Linked DNA regions of Homo sapiens: regions 1, 3 and 4 are each linked to region 2. The links are contacts of gene promoters, found by promoter capture Hi-C in human tissues and cell types (Jung and others, 2019). All regions are on one chromosome and are shown on one strand. The core of a region is centred on a gene start or on the middle of the fragment in contact, and the rest is flanking DNA. Distances in the headings are between cores, read along the strand shown.

Region 1 (5,536 bases), core at 630-3,129, 150 kb before region 2:
AGATCATGCCATTGCAGTCCAGCCTGGGCAACAGAGTGAGACTCTGTCTCAAAAAAAACACAAAACAAAACAAAACAAAAAAAACACAGCTAGGATGGTACATTTTATGTCACACATATTTTAGCATAACTAAAAAAAGGCAGAGAGATGAGAGGGCAAGGGTCTTGAGAAGACAGTGTGGGAGAGGGCAGCCAAACTTCTGAGGGAGGTGGGCAGGCAGGAAATCTCAGGGCAGAAGGGAGAGGAAGTTCCCGTCATGGGGCAGTAAGCACGGTCATCCAGGGTAGCAGGAGAGTCACGAATGGGAAAAAGGTGGAGGTGGTTTGGGTTTTGCAAAAGAGCCATGAGAAGAAACAGCAAGCAGAGATGATAGAAATGGGGATACCAAAGGCCTCGATCACCCAGTCATGCAGGGGTATGCCCAAGAAGACAGCAGATACCCTGACCTGGGCACCTGAAGAGACCCTCAGGGCACTCACTGGTTAGGGAAGAGATGCCAAGAGGGGCAGGGAGAGGAAACAAGTCCAGAGAGTCTGAGGCCTGGGGGTGAAACTTCAGTCACAGCAGGAGTGCCCCATCCATCTGTCTGTCCATCCATGTATCTGACCAGGCTGAGTGCCTTCAGAAGGCAGAGGCTCATCTTTCTGACTTATTAATGTGTGTGTGTCCCTAGTTCCAGGACAGCACCTGGCACACACCAGGTTTTGAGTGCATGTTATTGAATGAATGAGCAAGTGAATGAGTGAGTGGGGAACAAGCCAGTGGCCTCGGGTGGTAATGAGTCAGACAGAGGCAGGCACAGATGGTGGAGTGTGCCTCCGGGAAAGACTGCAGAGCCCCTGATGCACTGGGAGAGAAGGACGGGGGCCAAGAAACTGGGAGGGGGTGGGAGCAGGGGAGGCAGACAGACAGAGTTTGTTCCTCGAAGGACAGGTCTATGAGGCGAACTGGAGGTCCAGAAACTGCGCTTCCTCAGTCCACAGAGCATGAGGGGTACAGGGGACATGGCATGGGGTGATGGAGTCTGAAGTGTGGGAAGGGACATGTGTGTGCCAGAGGCCTGAGAGGGTGGGGGCATCAAGGGCCCTGGCACAATCTTGCTAGACCCGTGGCCAGACAGTGAGGTCGGGAAGGGGCAGCTGCAATACCAGCACACCTGGGAGTAGACAGTGGCATGGACCCAGGCAAGACGGCGGCTCAGGTGGTCCAGCTTTTCTGAGAAAACCTTCTGGCTCTTGGTCAACTCTGCAAGGATGTCCTTCCTCTGCCACCCAAGGGGAAAGGAGGACAATCAAGACATGGCCCCATACCCAGGTCCACCCTGATCCTGCAGGCAGCCTAGGAAGGGCCCTCTAGTGCCTGGAGCAGGCAAGGGATTGGGCTCCATTTTTCAAAACCTTCTTCTGCCACTGACCCTCTGGTGACCCTGAGCCAGCCTCAGAACAAGGCCATGGTGGTCCCCTCATGACATGGAAGTGAGGCCCAGCTGGGGGTCTGTGAGCCGCTGGCCAGAGCACCCAGGGACCTGATGCCAGAACCGCTGCTCCCCCAGCTGCCAGACCCAGGGATCTGCTGACAGGTCGGGGTGGGTGGGGGCTGTCAGGGAAGCTCAGCCTGGACACACTGGGCCCCACCTTCCTGGGCTAGGGCAGCTACAGCAGAGGGCTCCGGAGGGTGCAGTGGAGCCAGGCCCTGCTTCCTGCTGACTCTGCAAGTGGCCGAGGAAGCACTCAGGGTCAATGAATAATTGATGAGGAGAGTGGGTGTGCTTCAGCACTTATTGGGCCCAGGGGGTGGGGGGCACCTAGGCACAGGCCACACTGGTGATGGGTGCCAGGCCTTGCTGCCAGCCCCACTCTCACTGGCGTGCTATGGCCAGGGCTAGAGTGGGGATGAGAACTGCCAGGGCAGCCCCCAGAACCAGACTTCATCTGTGGTTACCTGTACGAGTAAGCAAGCTGCCCCTCACCAAGACTATGTGGGCCTTACCCTCTTGGGGCACCGGCGGAGCTTGTCCTCTGTGTCCCTCAGAGCCATAGCGTATTCATTGACATCATCGGAGACACCCACCATCTACACAGCATGGGACCACATGTCCAGAGTGCCCCTTGGGCACTTCATCCAGGCTTCTTCAGACCCAGTCTGGACCCCAGCCCTGCCAAGGTCCCAACCTTAGGCCCAGGGCGGTCCCATTCCCACAACAGTCAGCAGGTCAGACTGAGGCAGCAGGAGCAGAAACCAGCCTCGCTGAGGCATGTGCTCCCATGCACGGTCTTGAACAGGCAGCCCTGCGGGCCCATGTGCACACAGGAATACACACACAACCAAACACGCACAACACCCGCCACCCAATGCGGGGTCCAAGAGTGCACGACCTTGCCCAGCTGCTGGTGTACGCTGAGGTTGTACATCATGACCGCCCCATCCAGGACTTCCAGCAGCGAGTTCTCGGTGAGGGGCTGCTCAGGCTCCTCGGGGGGCCGCCCCAGCAGCAAGCCCTCATTCCAGTGGCTGCCTTCAACTGGGGAGTTGGGGAGGGAAGGGTCAAGGGTAGGGCCATCCCGGCTCTCCTGAGCCTGCCTCACAGCAGGAGAGGAAATCATCTCTCCCATTCCTGTGCCCAAGGAGGGACCCGCGGGGAGCCCATGGGGGCATGGGGGTAGGGGTGGAGTGCAGGGCAAGGCCTGCGGTGCCAGGACCTATTTCTGCGGCATTGATCTCCTGCCCTCGGAGTGTGCTTCCTGCACTCCTGGGATGCTGCCAGGCCACAGGGCTGGGAGGGCATGGGGTGTATTTTGGCTTTGCCCGGATCGGGGACTGTACACTGTGGAAGGGTCCTTCGGGGACCTGCCTGACCCCACCAAGCACCTACTGTCCTCACGGGTCCTCTGCTCCACGCTCAGCGTGCGGACCTTCACTTTCTCCGAGGTGCTCAGAGGCCGCCGTGGGGTCATGAGGCTCACAGCCGCTGTGCTGAGGAAGCGGTTGGCTCGGCCCAAAGTTGGAGAACTGAGCCAGCCGGGCCGGGGCAGGGGCAGTGGCCCCCCAACAGCCAGGGCCTGCATGGGGCGCTGCAGTGAAGAAAGGCGGCCAGGACCAGGGCTGGCTCAGGGTTCCCTTGGCCCACGGGGCTGCAGAATTGTGAGGGAGGGTCCATGCCTCCACCCACAGCAAGGCACCAGCCCAGTGAGAAACCCTTTGCCTGCATGGAGCGGGAAGTGGCCCTGGATGAGACCCCTGCCCATAAGATACAGGATAAGCCCAACACAAATCCCACCGCCTGCCCCCACTGCGGCACCTGGGCCATAGCTGGGGCTGGCTCCTCATCCTCATCTAGGTCATCCATGGCGGTTGACTGGAGCTCCAGTGGGTCGATCACAATGTTGGCTTTGGAAGCAAGGTCATCTGGGAGGAAGAGCAGGAGGGTTCTCAGGCCAGTGGTGGCGCAAGGGGCCACAGTGGAAGTGCCCAGGACGGTGAGAGAGCCCAGCACACTGGGCAGGAGGCCTTGCAGAGCCCGGTTTAGCACCGTATCTGCCCCTCGCCCCTCCGCCTCCTCCACCCAGCCTTCACTCTGCATCTCAAGGGCCCCGTCTAGCTGCCACTCAGTAACAGGAGGCCTTCCCCATCACACCCTTCTTTTTCATTTATTTTCAAATTGACTTTCTTTATTCTACATAGATGTAAGCCCATCATGCCCTTCCTGCTGGTCCCTGGCTTTGTTTCCCAGGACTTCCTGCTCTCCAGGGCCTCCCCCACTCTCTGACTACTCCATAAACAAAAGGAGATGCCAGGGCTGCTTCATTCTGGGCACTCCCAGTGGGAGCCAAGCCTCATCCCAGGCTCATCCCCACCACCGTGCTGACAACTGACCCCGCCTTCGCTGCCCCCCGCCCAGGCCTTGCTCCCCGCTAAACGCGCTGTGTCCAAACAGAATTTCTCATCTCCACCACCTCCTGCAGCCCCTCTCCCTGATGGCACCCCATCCACACAACCTCTGGCAGGAAGCCTGGGGTCATCCTGACTCCTCTCCTCCACCTGTGCCCTCCCCTACCTACCTGGGCAGGCCCTTATCTCCTGTGTGGGGACACCTGGGCTCCCTGTCTCTCAGCCCCTGCACTCCGGCGTATACACTGCGGCAGCCAGAGAGAGGTTCTGACAGCACAGACCCACCCTTGTGCCCGGCTCAGGGCCTTGCTCTCGCTGTGCCCTCAGCCCTGCACCGGGGCAGCTTGTGCTCATCCCTGAAGGCAGCTCCGGCAGCACCTGCACGCCCCATCCACACCTCACCAAGATCCCTGGTCCCCTGCCAGGCACGCCCGACCCCTATGGCGTGGGTGCTGGCGGGAAAGAGAAGCTGCCCAGATGTAGGGCAGGCAGATCAGTGTCTCCCTGCCTGAGTGGGTGGAAAGACTTGGGCACCCTCTGGTGGCCATAGGATGGCTCAGCATCCACAGCAGAGCAGGCTCAGGGACAGTCCCCCACCTGGCCCCAGAACTGCTCCCGGCCCACAGGCCTGTACACACCTTTGAGGGTCTTCCGCAGGTGCGAGAGGAGGCCCCCCAGGCGCTGCAGGTCAAAGTAGTCCACCTTGCCATTATAGAAGACCTGGGGCGGGATGTAGGCCTCTGCGAGGAATTGAGGAGGCTAGGCCAGTGGTCACGGCCCAGTAGGAAGACCCTCCCCACAGCCCTCCCCTCCAATCTGGCCTAGCACAGCCTGGGAATTCTGGCTTTGGCCACTCACCCATCCAGGCAGACAGAGAAACTGTCTCCTGGACCAAGAAACAGACCTCCCCTACCTCTTCTCCACCCCTGCCATTTCAGGTCAGAGCCAGCAGCTGCATAACTTGGGGTGATGGGGGTACTCATGGCAGCCGTTCACTCAGGAGAAGCAGAGAGGCCCAGCCCCAGTCCTGTGGGATATCCCCCAATCCAGGGCAGGTAAGGCTCCCACTGACCCTTGGGGACTCAAACACAGGGCCCCCCAGCACCCACCCAAGGCAGCCCTATAAAGGACGCACAGAGAAATGGGGGGGCAAGGACGGAAGAAAAGAGCCCACAATGGTAGGAGCCCGTGGGACAATCAGAGCAAACACAGGATCGGCAGGCCTGCGGTGCAGGGCTCCTGCTGCCCCAGTGGAGAAGCCGCCTGTGGCTGGGTAGGACTCAACCAGGCAGGATGCCGGGGACAACTCCCCACAGCCCACAGCCTCAGCTCAGCACTCTGCACTAACATTAGGGGCTGCCCTACGCCTGGCTCTGTCCAGCCTCACTGACCTGGGACCCCGGTGCCACTCACCCTCACTGAAGGAAGCATGAGGATTGGAAGCCTTGTATTCATCCCAATAGTAGCGCAGGGCAGAGATCAGCCGGTGTAAGAAGCAGACCATGTACTCAGGGGGGCAGAGCATGGGCATGTTCTGTGGACACCAGGCATGAAACATGCATTGGTGCCAGTCCAGTGCCTTGCCCATTCCTCATCCAAGGCCCTGCCTGAGGGTCGAGGGTTAAGCAGGGAGGGAAAAGCAGCAGAG
Region 2 (5,983 bases), core at 1,500-3,999:
TAATTGTACATGGCCACCCTGACACCAGAAGCAGAGAGCCCTTCCTTGAGGGACTCTCCAATGCCCAAAGCTCCACATCATCCCGACGGGCTAAGAGGCACCACTATGGGTGTGGCAGCACTGCTACTCATGGGATTCAAGTCAGGCTCTTCAGCAGCAAATGCTGGAGCCACCCCCTCACAGAGTCCAACTCAGCTCAGTATGAGGATGAAAAGACTAATTCAGCCTGGGATGACAAGGTAATATGGCAATAGCATTTAACTCCCCCAGAATCATCTCCCTTTTACCTGGCCTTCTACCCACCTCTATGAGGTTTCTGACTGCCCCGAAATTCAAAATCTTACTGAAAGCAAATATGTCTTTGTGCTAATGCTCTTTCCTGAATGCCCAGAAGCACATTCACAGGGCTTTTTCCCCATCAATGGGCCAATCTGTTCAGCAGCATCTTAGAACATGCTAAATTTGGCATCAGGTATCTGAGATGCTCTAGTGAGAGGAAGTAGAAGCCATTGCAATACTAAAGGAGAGATAAGCCATGGAGCTGCTGCTCAGCTGAGGTGCTATGATAAAATGAATATCAGCTGGAGGAGTAAATCCCACCTCCTAATGGTCTCTGGTTCTGAGCTTTGGGGACAAATAGCCAGCTCACCTCCTGAGTCTGATAGTCACAGGACCTCAGCACCACAGGCTCAGGTATGAGCCTTGCCCACAGCCAGGTAAGAGATTGTGTGACTACTAAATCCATCAGGAGTCCGTGGTTCGCCTCACCCACAGCAGTTCATGGGTCTGCCTGCAGCAGAATGTACAGATGAAGTACAAATGAAACACTAAAAAGGCATATGAGCAATAGACATCAGCCTCCTTCCGGTCCCTCTGAGCTGCCCAGGTCTTTCCAGAATTTCATATGATTGGCTCTGCAACATCTGATAAACTACAAGCAGAGCAGCCTGTTTGGTTATCAGAAGAGAAATGACAAATTCCCCATACAGGGAACTCTCAATAACAAGGTGTTTTTCCATTCAGCTACAGAAGCTTTCCCTTGGAAGGAGAACACTAAAGCCTGGGTGAGCCTCCCTCAAGCTAAAACCCAAACAGCAACTCAACATGCAGCAAAATGGACAGTGTTTGCAGTGCTAAGAGCTGTGTGCTATCCAACTGCATTACTATTATAGCTAGTATAAAATGGACAAATCCCACCTCTAAAAAGGATGCTCACAGGCTGACCTGTCTGCCGCAGGTTTCAAGCTACTAACAGCCTTTCATTACTGTTAGTTGTCTAAGAAATGACTTCTGAGGAAATAAACACACAAGAGGCACAGTCGGGCAGCCAAAGAATAAAAAATTATGCGTCCTCAGTTTATGTGCTTCCACACAGAAAAGCCAGGGCAACATATATCAGCAGACCCACATGGAGCTGGAAGCACCTCCCTCCCACCCCCTGGGGGTTTTGCTACTCCCCAAGCCTATTTGGTGCAAAGATAATGCCTTCCATTTTATCGTGTCATCTCTTAGTAGTTTTCCTGAGTTTTCAGTCTACTGACTTATTATATATTGGCATTCCCTTACAGCCTTCATTGCCACTTGACTGTTTTTGCAGGACCTGGGTTGGCATACATTTAAAACAAACTGGTTTCACAGTATTTAATCAGATATGTTCTGTTTAAAGCATTCTGTGTGGGTTTCAGCTTTTCCACTGGTTTGATCTAAATCATAAGGTAACGAGAACATATCTGGTGCTGGATGACTCAATAGCATTTTTGCTTCACCCCAAAATGTTTCCCTAAACCTTGGTGAAAGCACATGATCCTATTAGTATTGTTGGGCCTAAATAAGCACCTCTTGGTGTCCAGTGGGCAATTTTCCTTTCCCCCAAAGGTGATTACAGCCACTAAATGCCCAAGGAAAGCCCAAGACCAAGTTCATGGTTCAACTATTTTCATCTCTCTGTTCCTCGCAGTGACACTTATCTTCCCTGACAGCCACTCCCATTGTGCTGTTTTCTCGGCCCAGCACAATGGACACATGCAGACACCAGCAGACAGGGAGGACGTTTTCCATCCCATTGCTCTCCTGTGCGGAGGGACCAGGTTAAGGTTACATAAGCCCCTCCTGAGCAGTCAGGCCCGAGCGTTGGGGAGAAGCGAATTTGGGGTTCGTGACGGAGTCACGGTCTGCAGGCCCCGACTGACCCTGCGCTCGTCATCCTGCCACGCCAAGGCGGGGCAGCTGGAAAGGAAGGGCCGCTTCCCGCGACCACCCAGTTCACGCCAATCCGGCAGGGTTCAGAGTGCGGCCGGACGTCGAACCTCGCTGTCCACACTAGATCGCGGGATCCTGGGCCCGGGTCCCGGCCTCAGGCTGCAGCTCACCGCCCCCCGGGCGCCGAGACACGCGCTTACCTGCCCGGGCCAGGGCCGGGACCGGGGCCGGGGCCGGGGCCAGGGACCGGTGGTACCGCGGTCGACCGCGCTGCTCCCGCCGCGGGGAGCTGTCCGCCACCGGCCGGTGCTGAAGGCGGCTTTCCTGCGCCGGGGCCGGGGCCGGGGCCCGGGCCGGGGCCGGCGCCGCCGGGCGGCAGCGGCCCGTCGCCAGCGCCGCCCTCCAGGCTGACCTCGTTGCCCATGGCGGGCAGGCGGGCGGGCGGGGTCGGGGTCGCGCTGCGCCCGGGCCGGCGGCTCCCGGGCGGTGCTCACACTCTCGGCGCCGCCGCTGCCGCCGCCATCTCCCAGCTCGGCTCGCGCCGCCGCCTGCCGCTGCGCATGCGCGTCTCGCGCCCCCTTCCCTGCACACGCCCCCCTTCCCCTGTGCGCGCTCCCGCCAGCCTCGGGGTCGCTGGGAAACAGCCGCCGGCGCCCGCGCATGCGCTGTCCAGGGCCGACGCGGTTGTATCATGCTGAGAAGGAGCCGGGCGGGGGCCGGCGGGGCTGCGAGGGCCCTGTGAGGAGGGGCACCTGCCACTAGAAGCGGCCTCTGGGACGTCGCGCTGAGCCCTGCTTTGGAGTCAGAGGGGCTTTCCGCCTCGGTGAACTCGAGAGTAGCAACTCTCCTCCGGGTAACCGGAGTGCCACAGCGGGCAGGCGTCATAAGGACAGGCCTCGGAGAGGAGAGGGGCTACCCGAGAATGGCCTCAAAAGTATGCATAGGAGTTGGGAAGGCAGAGGAACAAGTGTATTCAGAGACGCAAGGTCGTAGAGGGAAGGAGAGGGAGGGTGCTGGGTGGTCGGGCCGGATTGTGAGGGTCTTTAAGGCCAGCTGGGGAGTGGAGCCTTTATCCAGATGGCGATGGGAACCATCTGGGATTCACACTGAGGAACTGGGAGTCTCAGGAAGCGCCCCGGGCACAGATGGAAGGTGTGACAGGGCTGTGTGAAGCCAGCTGGGAGGCCACCTCAGTCAGCCCTGGGAGAGTGACCTTGGGGATGGAAAAGAGGACTTGATGGTTCTCAGGCCTGGAGCTGTCTCGATGCGGGGCCGCAGGTTGCCTCTGCATTACCCTGAGAGCTTTCCAAATTACTTCCCCGCTCCCTCACATTTACAGCCGGTTTCTGCCCGCTACTCAGGATTGTCTGCCGTGGTGGCTTCTCACACAAGCCTGTACTTTCCTGTGGGAGAATATTTCCTAGGAGCCTATATTCCAGTTCATCTCTGACGTCATAAATCATGACTGTGTAGAAAGGCGTGAGTAACTTGAACCCATTTTACAAACCCATTCAATTCTCCTAATGTTGCGAAATATATCACATAGGGTGTTAGCAGTTCTAACTGAACCTAGAATAATCCAGGGATCCCAGTGAATGCTGATAGCCAGCCTGCTGGACAGACCGGTGGCTGTGTCAGTTCTTGTGAGGAGGGGCCAGGACCCTCCCTGGGCCTTCCCCTGTGCACTCCGAGCTGCTCCTCCCGACCTCTGGGATGGAGCAAGTAAGAGAAAGAGGAAATGCAGAGCCCCCACTTCCTGATATTTTCTCCTGACTTCATACCTCCCGTTTTCACGCTAAACTGCCTGGCCCCTCTGGGATGACCTAGGATGAAGAGAGCCTCTCTTCCTGCAGATGATGGTCCTTGCTGTGTTTCCTCCTGTGCTGCAGGATGTTTGATACAGCTTCGTGAGTGGTGACTACATGTGCACATTTAGGCTCCAAAAGAGTCTGCACCTCAGCCCCGATAGGACCCTTGGCAACTGACTTAGGCTCACTGAGCCTCCATTTCCTATTCTGCAAAGTTAGAATCTTAGTAGCTCCTCGAATATGGGGGATTGTAAGGGTAGAGTGGCTGATGTAGATATTTTATTTTTTATTCATTTTATTTTTTTTATTTTTATTTTTTGGAGACAGACTCTCGCTCTGTCACCCAGGCTGGAGTACAGTGGTGTGATCTCGGCTCACTGCAACCTCCACCTCCCGGATTCAAATGATTCTCCTGCCTCAGCCTCCCTAGTAGCTGGGATTACAGGTGCCCACCACCACACCTGGCTAGTTTTTGTATTTTTAGTAGAGATGGGATTTCACCATGTTGGCCAGGTTGGTCTTGAACTCCTGACCTCTGGTGATCCTCCCACCTCGGCCTCCCAAAGTGCTGGGATTACAGGCATGAGTCAATGCACCCAGCCTGATGTAGGTAAAACACCAGGACAAGTGCCTGGTATACTTATGACAACTCTGTTATTAGTTGTCTCCCTGGTGATGGTCTGGGATGTGGCGGTCTTGTGCCATATATTTCCTCCTGGGGAAGAATATGCTCACAAACACTATGGGCAGGCCAGTGGCCTGACCTTGTCCCAACCCAGGCTGTTATAGCTTCACAGACCCCAGTCAGTGTGGGTTGGGCTACTTGAAACAGGGGAAAGGATGTTTATTTTTTTGTTTTTGTAGAAACCACAGGAGCTATGGCTTTCCACAGATTTAAATCAACATGCCTCTGGTTCCTGTGTGGTTAATTAGCTCTACCCAGCCTGCAGGCTTGGGGAGTTGCCCTCCTCAGAGTGGATTCCTGGCTGTTAGCAGACCTCCAGGGTCTTTGCTGCCCTGGTGACAAAGGGCACAGCACAGTGGACCCAGGAGACCTGAAAATGTGGGTTAGAGGTGCCCCTCCTCTCCTCTCAAACTCTCCCAGTTCTGTTTCCTTTGAGGAGCATCCCCAGGAACATGCCTGCCCTGTGTTCATTCACCCTTGACATTCAGCCCAGGGACTCTTGTGGACCATGGGATGGTATTGGCCTCTGGTTATCTGGGGCTCTGATTCAATCTCCCATTTCCATTCACTGTCCCAGAGGCTGTTTACCTCCTTTTGATCTAGACTGGGGCTCCTCAACAGCAGGACCTTGTCTGACTGGTCCTATCCCCTGGGCTGGCCTTCAGCAGGCCCTCTGGGGCTCATGGTTGTGCTGGCTTCTCCATGACGCTCTGAGCATTTCCCTCACCTGCGCTTCTAAAGGGCCCACCAATCACCAGGCTTAAAAGCACTCAGAGAGATCTTTGGCTTTAGCTGCTGAGCTAATAAGTAACAGGGAGAGTGCTGGGATTGCATCTGGTTTCTCCTCATGGAGGGGTTGTTGATGAGCTCTCTTCACTCATCCAGGAAAATTCACTAGGCTTGACTATGCTTTATGACAAATGAATAAACAAATCTTTCAGTTTATGCAAGCCAGCTGTGTGGTGTGTCAAGTATCATGTCCTCCTGGGTCCAACTGCTGCCCCACCAGGGACAGGATAGACCTAGAGACCCTGCAGGAGTTTCCCAGTCCCCTAAGCTTCACTTGCTGAAATATCTTCTTCCCACTTCAGCATAACATGTGACACATGGCAGCCATTTTGGAGATGGCCAGATGAGAGGACAATCAATCCACATGCCTAAATGGAACCAACAGACATGTGCCAGCTTGCTTCTCCAGCCTATGTTCTCAGACACTTGTAGAAGACCAGAGGGAAAATGGAATCAGAAAAAACAGCAACAACAACAAAAAGCCATCCAGGGCCATGCACAG
Region 3 (5,411 bases), core at 30-2,529, 200 kb after region 2:
ATAAATATATCTACCCCAGACTAGATGTAGTATTTTTTGTATAATTGGATTTCCTAATACTGTCATCCTCAAAGAAAGTGTATTGGTTTTTTAAAAAAGAAAGTGTATTTGGAAATAAAGTCAGATGGAAAATTCATTTTTTAAATTCCCGTTTTGTCACTTTTTCTGATAAAAGATGGCCATATTACCCCTTTTCGGCCCCATGTATCTCAGTACCCCATGGAGCTGGGCTAAGTAAATAGGAATTGGTTTCACGCCTGAGGCAATTAGACACTTTGGAAGATGGCATAACCTGTCTCACCTGGACTTAAGCATCTGGCTCTAATTCACAGTGCTCTTTTCTCCTCACTGTATCCAGGTTCCCTCCCAGAGGAGCCACCAGTTCTCATGGGTGGCACTCAGTCTCTCTTCTCTCCAGCTGACTAAACTTTTTTTCTGTACCAGTTAATTTTTCCAACTACTAATAGAATAAAGGCAGTTTTCTAAACTTCCTGTATCCTGTTGTTTGTGTTGCTCTCTCCAGGGCTGGGGGTAGGAGGATGCAAGGACTTCCTGGCCTAGCTCACCCTGGAGAGGTTTGTTGAGTGCAAAGGACTAGCTTGTGCCCCACCTCCCACCCACCCAGCAGCTAATCTGGTCCCTCCCAACAACATGGAAATGATTACCCTGTACCGCATTCTGGTTCAGATTTGGGGGTAGGGTGAATGCAGCCTGAGGAGGCCAGGGAGGGAGGACTCCGGCAGCGTTTCCTTGGCCTCGGCGAGCTACTGGGCTCCACTTAAGGAGGCTGGGGCAGAGCTTCCAGGACTCTGCCCGGTTAGAAAACCCGCACGAGGGCGGTGCCGCTTTGGAGACAGGGAGGAGGGAGACCGGAAGCCTAGATCCCTCTGGCTGTCCCCTGCACTGCCGGTAACATGGCACAGGAGAGGAGGGCTGTTTGTGCACGGGCAGCTCCTGCAGCTGCTGCCGTCGCCCACCAGCCTCCTATGCCAAACCCCACATCCTAACTCAGGAACCTCTGAGAAAAAACGGAGCCCTCGAGGGCCCCAGCCCTTGGAAGGGTAACCTGGACCGCTGCCGCCTGGTTGCCTGGGCCAGACCAGACATGCCTGCTGCTCCTTCCGGCTTAGGAGGAGCACGCGTCCCGCTCGGGCGCACTCTCCAGCCTTTTCCTGGCTGAGGAGGGGCCGAGCCCTCCGGGTAGGGCGGGGGCCGGATGAGGCGGGACCCTCAGGCCCGGAAAACTGCCTGTGCCACGTGACCCGCCGCCGGCCAGTTAAAAGGAGGCGCCTGCTGGCCTCCCCTTACAGTGCTTGTTCGGGGCGCTCCGCTGGCTTCTTGGACAATTGCGCCATGTGTGCTGCTCGGCTAGCGGCGGCGGCGGCGGCGGCCCAGTCGGTGTATGCCTTCTCGGCGCGCCCGCTGGCCGGCGGGGAGCCTGTGAGCCTGGGCTCCCTGCGGGGCAAGGTACTACTTATCGAGAATGTGGCGTCCCTCTGAGGCACCACGGTCCGGGACTACACCCAGATGAACGAGCTGCAGCGGCGCCTCGGACCCCGGGGCCTGGTGGTGCTCGGCTTCCCGTGCAACCAGTTTGGGCATCAGGTGCGCCGGGCGGAGCGGGGCGGGGCGGGGGCGGACGTGCAGTAGTGGCTGGGGGCGCCGGCGGTGTGCTGGTGGGTGCCGTCGGCTCCATGCGCGGAGAGTCTGGCTACTCTCTCGTTTCCTTTCTGTTGCTCGTAGCTGCTGAAATTCCTCTCCGCCCTTGGGATTGCGCATGGAGGGCAAAATCCCGGTGACTCATAGAAAATCTCCCTTGTTTGTGGTTAGAACGTTTCTCTCCTCCTCTTGACCCCGGGTTCTAGCTGCCCTTCTCTCCTGTAGGAGAACGCCAAGAACGAAGAGATTCTGAATTCCCTCAAGTACGTCCGGCCTGGTGGTGGGTTCGAGCCCAACTTCATGCTCTTCGAGAAGTGCGAGGTGAACGGTGCGGGGGCGCACCCTCTCTTCGCCTTCCTGCGGGAGGCCCTGCCAGCTCCCAGCGACGACGCCACCGCGCTTATGACCGACCCCAAGCTCATCACCTGGTCTCCGGTGTGTCGCAACGATGTTGCCTGGAACTTTGAGAAGTTCCTGGTGGGCCCTGACGGTGTGCCCCTACGCAGGTACAGCCGCCGCTTCCAGACCATTGACATCGAGCCTGACATCGAAGCCCTGCTGTCTCAAGGGCCCAGCTGTGCCTAGGGCGCCCCTCCTACCCCGGCTGCTTGGCAGTTGCAGTGCTGCTGTCTCGGGGGGGTTTTCATCTATGAGGGTGTTTCCTCTAAACCTACGAGGGAGGAACACCTGATCTTACAGAAAATACCACCTCGAGATGGGTGCTGGTCCTGTTGATCCCAGTCTCTGCCAGACCAAGGCGAGTTTCCCCACTAATAAAGTGCCGGGTGTCAGCAGAACTGTGTGTATGTCCTGTGTCATTGTCATTTGGGAATTCTTTTTCTTTTCTTTTTTTTTTTTTTTTTTTGAGACGGAGTTTTTTGCTCTATTGCCCAGGCTGGAGTGCAGTGGCGCAATCTAGGCTCACTGCAAGCTCCGCCTCCCGGGTTCACGCCATTCTCCTGCCTCAACCTCCTGAGTAGCTGGGACTACAGGTGCCTGCCACCACGCCCGGCTAATTTTTTGTATTTTTAGTAGAGACAGGGTTTCACCGTGTTAGCCAGGATGGTATCGATCTCCTGACCTCGTGATCCACCCGCCTCGGCCTCCCAAAGTGCTGGGATTACAGGTATGAGCCACCGCACCCGGCCTGGCGATACTTTTTCTAACCTCATTGTCATAGTGGTGGGAACTTAATCCTCCTTCCCTTATCCTAGCCAAGTCTGAACTTTCTGTCCTTTTGTCTGCAGCGTGTAGGATCCACTCTTTCCTTTGTGGGAAGTCTGGCTCCTGGCCTGCATTTCTGCCTTCACCAGAACATGCAAAGGGCCATCTCAAGACCCAGTTACAACAAAGTCCTTACTTCAAAAAAGACACAAGGCAATGGTTGACTGCCTAACTCAAATGATAGACTTCTGACTACTTGCTGCACGCTGAAATGACTGTCACAAAATAACATGAGCCCCCACTCACATTTGGAGTCATGGCCTCTCCAATTGTTAGGTCCACACAATCCCATTTTACACGGAAGCTCATGCAATGTTATAAATTCTGTTATCTGGCTAGATCTTTCCATGTTGCTACCAAGTGCCTGTATCTGCTGTGACGATGATCTTACAAGTTTCTGCCTCATATATTCAAGAGTGAGAAAACTATAATTTAACTGGCCCTTCTGACTATGCCCTGCCCAACACTTAACGTGCAATTAATTGCACATTCAGGCCCAGGATAAGGGCTTGTCTTTGAAGCCAGCTGCTGCTTCTCGGGCACCACTCAGGTCCAGCCTCTCCATCTGTTGACCCTGCTGCCAATAATCTTTAATTTTTTTTTTTTTTTTTTTTTTTTTGAGACAGTCTTGCTCTGTTGCGCAGGCTGGAGTGCAGTGGTGTAATCTCGGCTCACTGCAAGCTCCGCCTCCCGGGTTCACGCCATTCTGCCTCAGCCTCCCGAGTAGCTGGGACTACAGGCGCCCGCCACCACGCCCGGCTAATTTTTTTCTGTTTTTTAGTAGACGGGGTTTCACCGTGTTAGCCAGGATGGTCTCGATCTCCTGACCTCGTGATCCACCCGCCTTGGCCTCCCAAAGTGCTGGGATTACAGGCTTGAGCAGCAATAATCTTTCAAGACAGATTTGGAGCCATTTCCTAACGCAGTGCAGGGGACTGCAGGGCCTGGGTGTAGCTTCCGCTTGTGCAAACAGGTACCCAGAGACATGGTAGTGCTGTTCACCCGCTGACTGTGGACCAGAGGTTCTGGAGTCCCAGCATTTGTGTTCAAATTCGTGACTCAAGGTCCTTCTTAGTCTGAACCAACTCTCAAGGACTTTTCCTCTTGCCCTAAGCAGTGATCTTTGCTGCTGCTTTCCCCCTTTGTCTGCCCTTAGGTCACTAAGGATTGTAGGGCCTTCTGGACCTGCTCTGGCTCCATCCTGAGAACTCCTGAACAGGCCCACCTCCCTCTGGTTCTCTCTGCCCCAGCCTTTGAGTCCCCCTTGGGGTGACCCAGGTAGAACTATCAGCTTCCCCTTTGGACCTCACTCTACTTGTGTTGTTCCTTGGAACTCTCAGGAGTCTCACTCTTGCCCAGGCTGGGGTGCAGTGGCATGATCTCAGCTCACTGCAGCCTCCACCTCCCAAGTTTAAGCGATTCTCCTGCCTCAGCCTCCCCAGTGGCTGGGATTACAGGTGCCTACCACCATGCCTGGCTACTTTTTAATATTTTTAGTAGAGATGGGATTTCGCCATGTTGGCCAGGCTGGTCTCAAACTCCTGACCTCAGGTGATCTGCCTGCCTAGGCCTCCCAAAGTGCTGGGATTACAGGCGTGAGCCACTGCGCCCTGCCAGAATGGAATGTTATTATATTAATAGATCAATATTTGTGATGAATATCATATGCCGGGCCCTGTGGGCCCTGAGATGGCTAGCCCCTGTACCCCTCCTAGACTGTTAACTTCTGGGGAAGAAGATTAGTCATTCATAAATGCAATCAAGGCTCCTGAGTGGCCATTCATGGACGCTCACGCCTATAATCCCAGCATTTTATAATCCCAAGTAATCCGAGGAGGGCAGATCACTTGAGGCAAGGAGTTGGAGACCAGCCTGACCGACATGGTGAAACCCCCGTCTCTACTAAAAATACAAAAATTAGCCAGGTGTGGTGTCGGGCGCCTGTAATCCCAACTACTCTGGAGGCTGAGGCAGGGAGAATTGCCTGAACCTGGGAGGCGGAGGTTGCAGTGAGCCGAGATTGCGCTATTACACTTTAGCCTGGGCAACAGAGCGAGACACTTTCTCAAAAAAAAAAAAAAAAAAAAAAAAAAAATCCACTCAAATGGTACCAAGGCTTTTTGACATTTGTAGACTTCAAATCTGACTCCTGGAATGGAGAATAGCAACCTGTAAATCTGGGTGGACCCAGATTGCCTGTGACCCCTAATGTCCTACATGTCTCTTCCCCAAAAGCACTTTGCTCCCTCATTCATTCATAATCCAGTCCTGTGCCGTGTGCTCTGCCAGGTGCCTGAAGAAGTCAGAAGGACAGTATATAATTATCAAAAAAGCATGTTTTGTGCTTTGAGAATAGGAAAAAAAGACAAGAAAAAAATTGTGCACCTTACACTAGTTAAAAAAAAAGAATAGGCCGGGTGCGGTGGCTCACGCCTGTAATCCCAGCACTTTGGGAGGCCGAGGCGGGCGGATCACGAGGTCAGGAGATCGAGACCATCCTGGCTAACAAGGTGAAACCCCGTCTCTAC
Region 4 (4,481 bases), core at 453-2,952, 140 kb after region 2:
AAAAAATTAGCTGGGCATTGTGGCGGGCGCCTGTAGTCCCAGCTACTCGGGAGGCTGAGGCAGGAGAATGGCATGAACCTGGGCGGCGGAGTTTGCAGTGAGCCGAGATTGCGCCACTGCACCTCCAGCCAGGGCGATAGAGCGAGACCCCGTCTCAAAAAAAAAAAAAAAAAAAAAAAAGAAACTGAAGATGCTGCCGGGCATGGTGGCTCACACCTGTAATCCCAGCACTTTGGGAGGCCAAGGTGGGTGGATCATGAGGTCAGGAATTCGAGAATAGCCTGGCCAACATGGTGAGACCCCGTCTCTACTGAAAATATAAAAATTAGCCAGGCGTGGTGGCGGGTGCCTGTTATCCCAGCTACTCGGGAGACTGAGGCAGGTAAATTGCTTGAACCTGGGAGGCAGAGTTTGCAGTGAGCTGAGATCGTGCCACTGCATTCTAGGCCTGGGCGACAGAGTGACTCCATCTCAAAAAAAAAAAAAAGAAACTGAAGACGCTCGGCAGGTGGGCAGCATGGCCTCCAGGGGATAGGAGGTGGTTGGTTGGCTGACGGCAGTGAAGGGAGGAATAGAGCCTGGAGTAGCCCAAGCAAAGGGGCCTTGATGCTAGATAGTGTGTTACTTGAGGACCTCATAAGGACCTCCTGTGGCCAGGGCTTCTATGGGCTGTGGCTTATGTCTCATGTGTCATTCTCCAGGGAAGCGCCGCCGAGCTGCTATGGACTTCCCTGGAGCCAAGGTCATTGTTCCCCAGCTGAAGGGCAGGGTGCAGCGGAGGCGTGTGGGGTTGATGTGTGAGGGGGCCCCCATGCGGGCACACAGTCCCATCCTGAACATGGAGGGTACCAAGATTGGTAGGTGGACCAGGGAAGCTGGGAAACCCTTGTCTCTTCCCAGGAGGGTGGGGGCACTGGCAGGGTGGTGCTGATGCGTGGCTTATGCTTGCTTGACAGGTACTGTGACTAGTGGCTGCCCCTCCCCCTCTCTGAAGAAGAATGTGGCGATGGGTTATGTGCCCTGCGAGTACAGTCGTCCAGGGACAATGCTGCTGGTAGAGGTGCGGCGGAAGCAGCAGATGGCTGTAGTCAGCAAGATGCCCTTTGTGCCCACAAACTACTATACCCTCAAGTGAAGCTGGCTCAGGGTGGGGCTGTCCCTTCCAGGAGTTTTGCCCCTACAAGGGGTTAGTCAAGAAGCTGAGGCAGAACTCACTGGGGGTGGGCAGTTAAGGTGGAGGCTGATTCTAATTGTCTGGTTGAGGGGCCACACCACCTATTCCCCCCACCTAACTCATGCCATTCCAGCTTCCTTCAGGACCCTGCTTCTGAGTGACGGACCAGCTCACACAATGTCTTGTTTCAGTCCATGATCCCACTGACCTACTCTTGCCTGCTGGAGGGTAATGAGAAGCTTTGGTTCTGCCATCTCTCCCACTCTGCCAGGTGCTGGCTGTGGAGCAAAGGCTCACCTTTGTGGAGAGGATAAAACCTGCCCAACCTACCTCACCATGGTTTTTCACATTGCAAAGGGTAATAACATGGGCAGTGCGGACTTAGGCTACCCCCTCCAGTTTGCTTTCCGTAAATGCAAATTGTCCTTACTGCAAGTCAGGAATGATTGCTGACTCACAGTAGGGCTGCTATGCCTGTGTGTAAACTTGGGGATGGCTGAGGGAACATAGACTCACTCTTCCACATTCCCAAGTTGGTCTAGTGTGCTGCCCAGTAGCAAACCATGGCAGACTCACCACCTATTCTGAGTTCCAGGGCTGCTGTAGGGCAGGGTGGGCTTCCTCCCAGACTTGCCTTACCCTGGGCTGATCTTTGCCCCTGGTATGCATTAATGGACTCCACTGAATCCTGAAAAAAAAATTAAACTTCCTTCTTACTTGCCAGTCTCTAGCTTCATTGTTCTCTGTTCACAGGGTTCCTGAAATGCCAACCCAATGCCTGCCTTCCTGGCCTCCAAGACAAGCTTGGAATAGGTTCTCCTTGAAAGGGGCCAGTCTATAAAAATGGAGATATTGCCCCTGTTGGGCACCCCATCCCTGCTCCTCCAGGGAGCTGCATCACCTCTCCCCTCCCTGCAAGTTATTGCATCTGGGTCCCAAGGGGCAACAGCTTCCAGGATGTTCCCTCTCTCACTGCCCCTGTGCATGCACACCCTTGTTCTGTCTGAATAACCACAACAACCGATGCACTTCCGTGTTTAATAAGCCACATCCTCAGTTGAGCCTGGGGTGAAATGTGAGATCCTGACTCTGTGCAGTAGTATTAGTGGGTGGGCCAGGGGCTGTGAATAACATCATCCTCAGTACAGCTGCAATTCCAGGGCCCCTCTACCACAAAGATGGCTTAAGCAAAGGCAGCCAGATGGAAGTATGATATCCAACAGGAAGGAAGTAGGCAGGGGTCACTAAAGTGGCTGGTGGCCCAGCAGATGGAAACAGAAGTATGGCCCCGAGGGAAGGAGGCAGGTCCAGGGCTACAGTGCTTTCAGGTACTGGTGTTTCTATAGGGGCATTTGCCACCCACATCTTTGGAAACTCCCCTGGCCTATTGTGACATGGCAGGGCTGCCTGGTTCTTGAAGGTAGAGAAAATGCTAGTGGGGAGGAGCTGAGCCTGTGACGTGCATTTGTACCAGGTCCAGATGGGAAATGATGAGGCTGCAGGCTATGATGGGGCCACTGTGCACTAAATGCTTGGTACCATCCTATGAGGGGACAAGGTGCAGACCCACATTCCCATAGGCACTTAAGCAGTGGTGGATAGGAGGCTACCCCAGGGGTTCAGCTGTCCTTCAGGTAATCAGCTTACCCCCAAGAAGGACTGAGAGGAATATGAGTAGGACAGTTGGCAGATGACAATTTCCTTTGCCTGGCTCACGGGAGAAGTCTGGTTGGGCCAGGTATGTGGGTGTTTGGTGCCTCCATCTGGATAGTGCCAGCAGGTACACCACCCTGCCTTATACCTGAATGGCCAGCTAAATAACCATAGAGCTTAAGGTCTGGCTCAGGTCAGGATTCCCTGGCTCCTTGCCAACAAAGCAAAACCAGAGATTCAGAAAACTCAGGGCCTAGGAGAAAACAGACCTGCCTTACAAACCCCAGAGCTGGTCAACCTCAGGCTTCCTCTCAGGAAAAAAATTTTTTTTTTGAGATGGGTCTTGCTCTGTTGCCCAGGCTGGAGTACAACGGCGCAATCTTGGCTCACTGCAACCTCTGCCTCCCAGGTTCAAGCAAATCTCCTGCTTCAGCCTCCTGAGTAGCTGGGATTACTGGTGTGTGCCACCACACCCGGCTAATTTTTGTATTTTTAGTAGAGATGGGGTTTTCACCATGTTGGTCAGGCTGGTCTCGAACTCCTGACCTCGTGATCTGCCTGCCTCAGCCTCCCAAAGTGTTGGGATTACAGGCGTGAGCCACCATGCCTGGCCAACTCAGGAAAAATTTTTATGGGGTCACATCTTGGGGATGGAAGAGGGACAGGAAAAGAAACCTAAGACAAAAGAACTGATGGTCTTCCCAACCCAGAGGCTTCCTGAGTTATCACCCCTGAGAGAGGAAGAACACAATCTCTCTCCTTAAGGCACCCAGATAAGAGTACAGGCAAACTCTTCACTTGCCCAGTGCCTGGGTGAGGGAGCAGGCTTAAGAGGCAGAAGAGGCCCAGCCCTGTAGGCACTGGGTACTCCCTGCTACCAACCCTGAACCCCCGGCAGTTGTCCCTGAGGTCTGGGGAGTAGCAGAACCCAGTGTAGAAGCCAGCAGACCCAGTGATGCCCTTGGAGACCCTCTGCTGCCTTCCCTTATTCTCTGTGGGTTTTGAGAGGTTCGTTTGCTGCCATTTCCCTGAAAGTGATGGAGAGAGAGAAGAGAGAGTGGTTATTCCATGGGCAGAACAGTTGCTGAAATTGGCTCTCCCAAGCTCCTTCTTGGGGGCTGAGCTAGGCTCAGTAAGGTCACATAACAATCTAGACCTCTCTGCTGGTCTCCCACAGCCCACCCTGGGCCCAGCACCTTCTCCCTGCAGACTCATTCTTCTTCCTGGTTCTCCATGTTAGTACGGCATTGCCATCCTTCTCTAGTTTTTTTATTCTTTTTATTTATTACTATTGTTATTACTTTTCTTTTTTTGAGACGGAGTTTCACTCTTGTTGCCCAGGTTGGGGTGCAATGGCAAGATCTCAGCTCACTGCAGCCTCCACCTCCCGGGTTCAAGCAATTTTCCTGCCTCAGCCTCCCAAGTAGCTGGGATTACAGGCGCCCGCCACCACACCCAGCTAGTTTTTGTATTTTTAGTGAAGACGGGGTTTCGCCATGTTGGCCAGGCTGGTCTCAAACTCCTGGCCTCAGGTGATCTACCCTCCTCAGTCTCCCAAAGTGCTAGGAACAGGCGTGAGCCACCATGCCCGGCCTGTTATTTTTTTTGAGACAGAGTCTCACTCTGATGCCCAGTCTGGAGTGCAGTGGCGTGA

What was found. Contacts are between HindIII fragments. The study calls those that stand out against the background at their distance.
Region 1: a fragment that was not itself captured here is called in contact with the fragment with the promoter of BSN in region 2 in 1 of the 25 tissues and cell types used here (IMR-90 fibroblasts).
Region 3: the fragment with the promoter of GPX1 here is called in contact with the fragment with the promoter of BSN in region 2 in 1 of the 25 tissues and cell types used here (liver).
Region 4: a fragment that was not itself captured here is called in contact with the fragment with the promoter of BSN in region 2 in 1 of the 25 tissues and cell types used here (dorsolateral prefrontal cortex).

What each region holds. Positions count from the first base shown.
Region 1 is chr3:49,702,519-49,708,054 of GRCh38, reverse strand. RNF123 (ring finger protein 123) reads right to left here. Exons shown (of 39, transcript NM_022064.5): 20 at 5,302-5,422; 21 at 4,527-4,628; 22 at 3,299-3,405; 23 at 2,873-3,071; 24 at 2,376-2,521; 25 at 1,990-2,073; 26 at 1,157-1,264. Among named protein-coding and RNA genes, the nearest start is that of AMIGO3, 14 kb to the left of the region's middle. RefSeq lists a silencer at 4,205-4,499. The HindIII fragment of the contact is 7,498 bases long and covers 1-5,536 here.
Region 2 is chr3:49,551,243-49,557,225 of GRCh38, reverse strand. It overlaps BSN (bassoon presynaptic cytomatrix protein), which reads right to left and starts at 2,749. Exons shown (of 12, transcript NM_003458.4): 1 at 2,400-2,749. The coding sequence starts at 2,623. BSN-DT (BSN divergent transcript) reads left to right here and starts at 2,860. Exons shown (of 3, transcript NR_038866.1): 1 at 2,860-3,185; 2 at 3,539-3,678; 3 at 5,784-5,983. RefSeq lists silencers at 2,362-2,571, 2,642-2,941. The HindIII fragment of the contact is 7,009 bases long and covers 51-5,983 here.
Region 3 is chr3:49,354,221-49,359,631 of GRCh38, reverse strand. GPX1 (glutathione peroxidase 1) reads left to right here and starts at 1,279. Exons shown (of 2, transcript NM_000581.4): 1 at 1,279-1,605; 2 at 1,885-2,456. The coding sequence starts at 1,354. The coding sequence ends at 2,244. RHOA (ras homolog family member A) reads left to right here. Exons shown (of 5, transcript NM_001664.4): 5 at 1-487. RefSeq lists enhancers at 386-994, 757-1,086, 995-1,603 and a silencer at 1,247-1,306. The HindIII fragment of the contact is 32,276 bases long and covers 1-5,411 here.
Region 4 is chr3:49,414,194-49,418,674 of GRCh38, reverse strand. TCTA (T cell leukemia translocation altered) reads right to left here. Exons shown (of 3, transcript NM_022171.3): 3 at 2,199-3,855. The coding sequence ends at 3,813. AMT (aminomethyltransferase) reads left to right here. Exons shown (of 9, transcript NM_000481.4): 8 at 702-857; 9 at 957-1,897. The coding sequence ends at 1,135. Among named protein-coding and RNA genes, the nearest start is that of TCTA, 4.0 kb to the right of the region's middle. RefSeq lists enhancers at 299-1,017, 2,444-2,653. The HindIII fragment of the contact is 4,017 bases long and covers 1-3,710 here.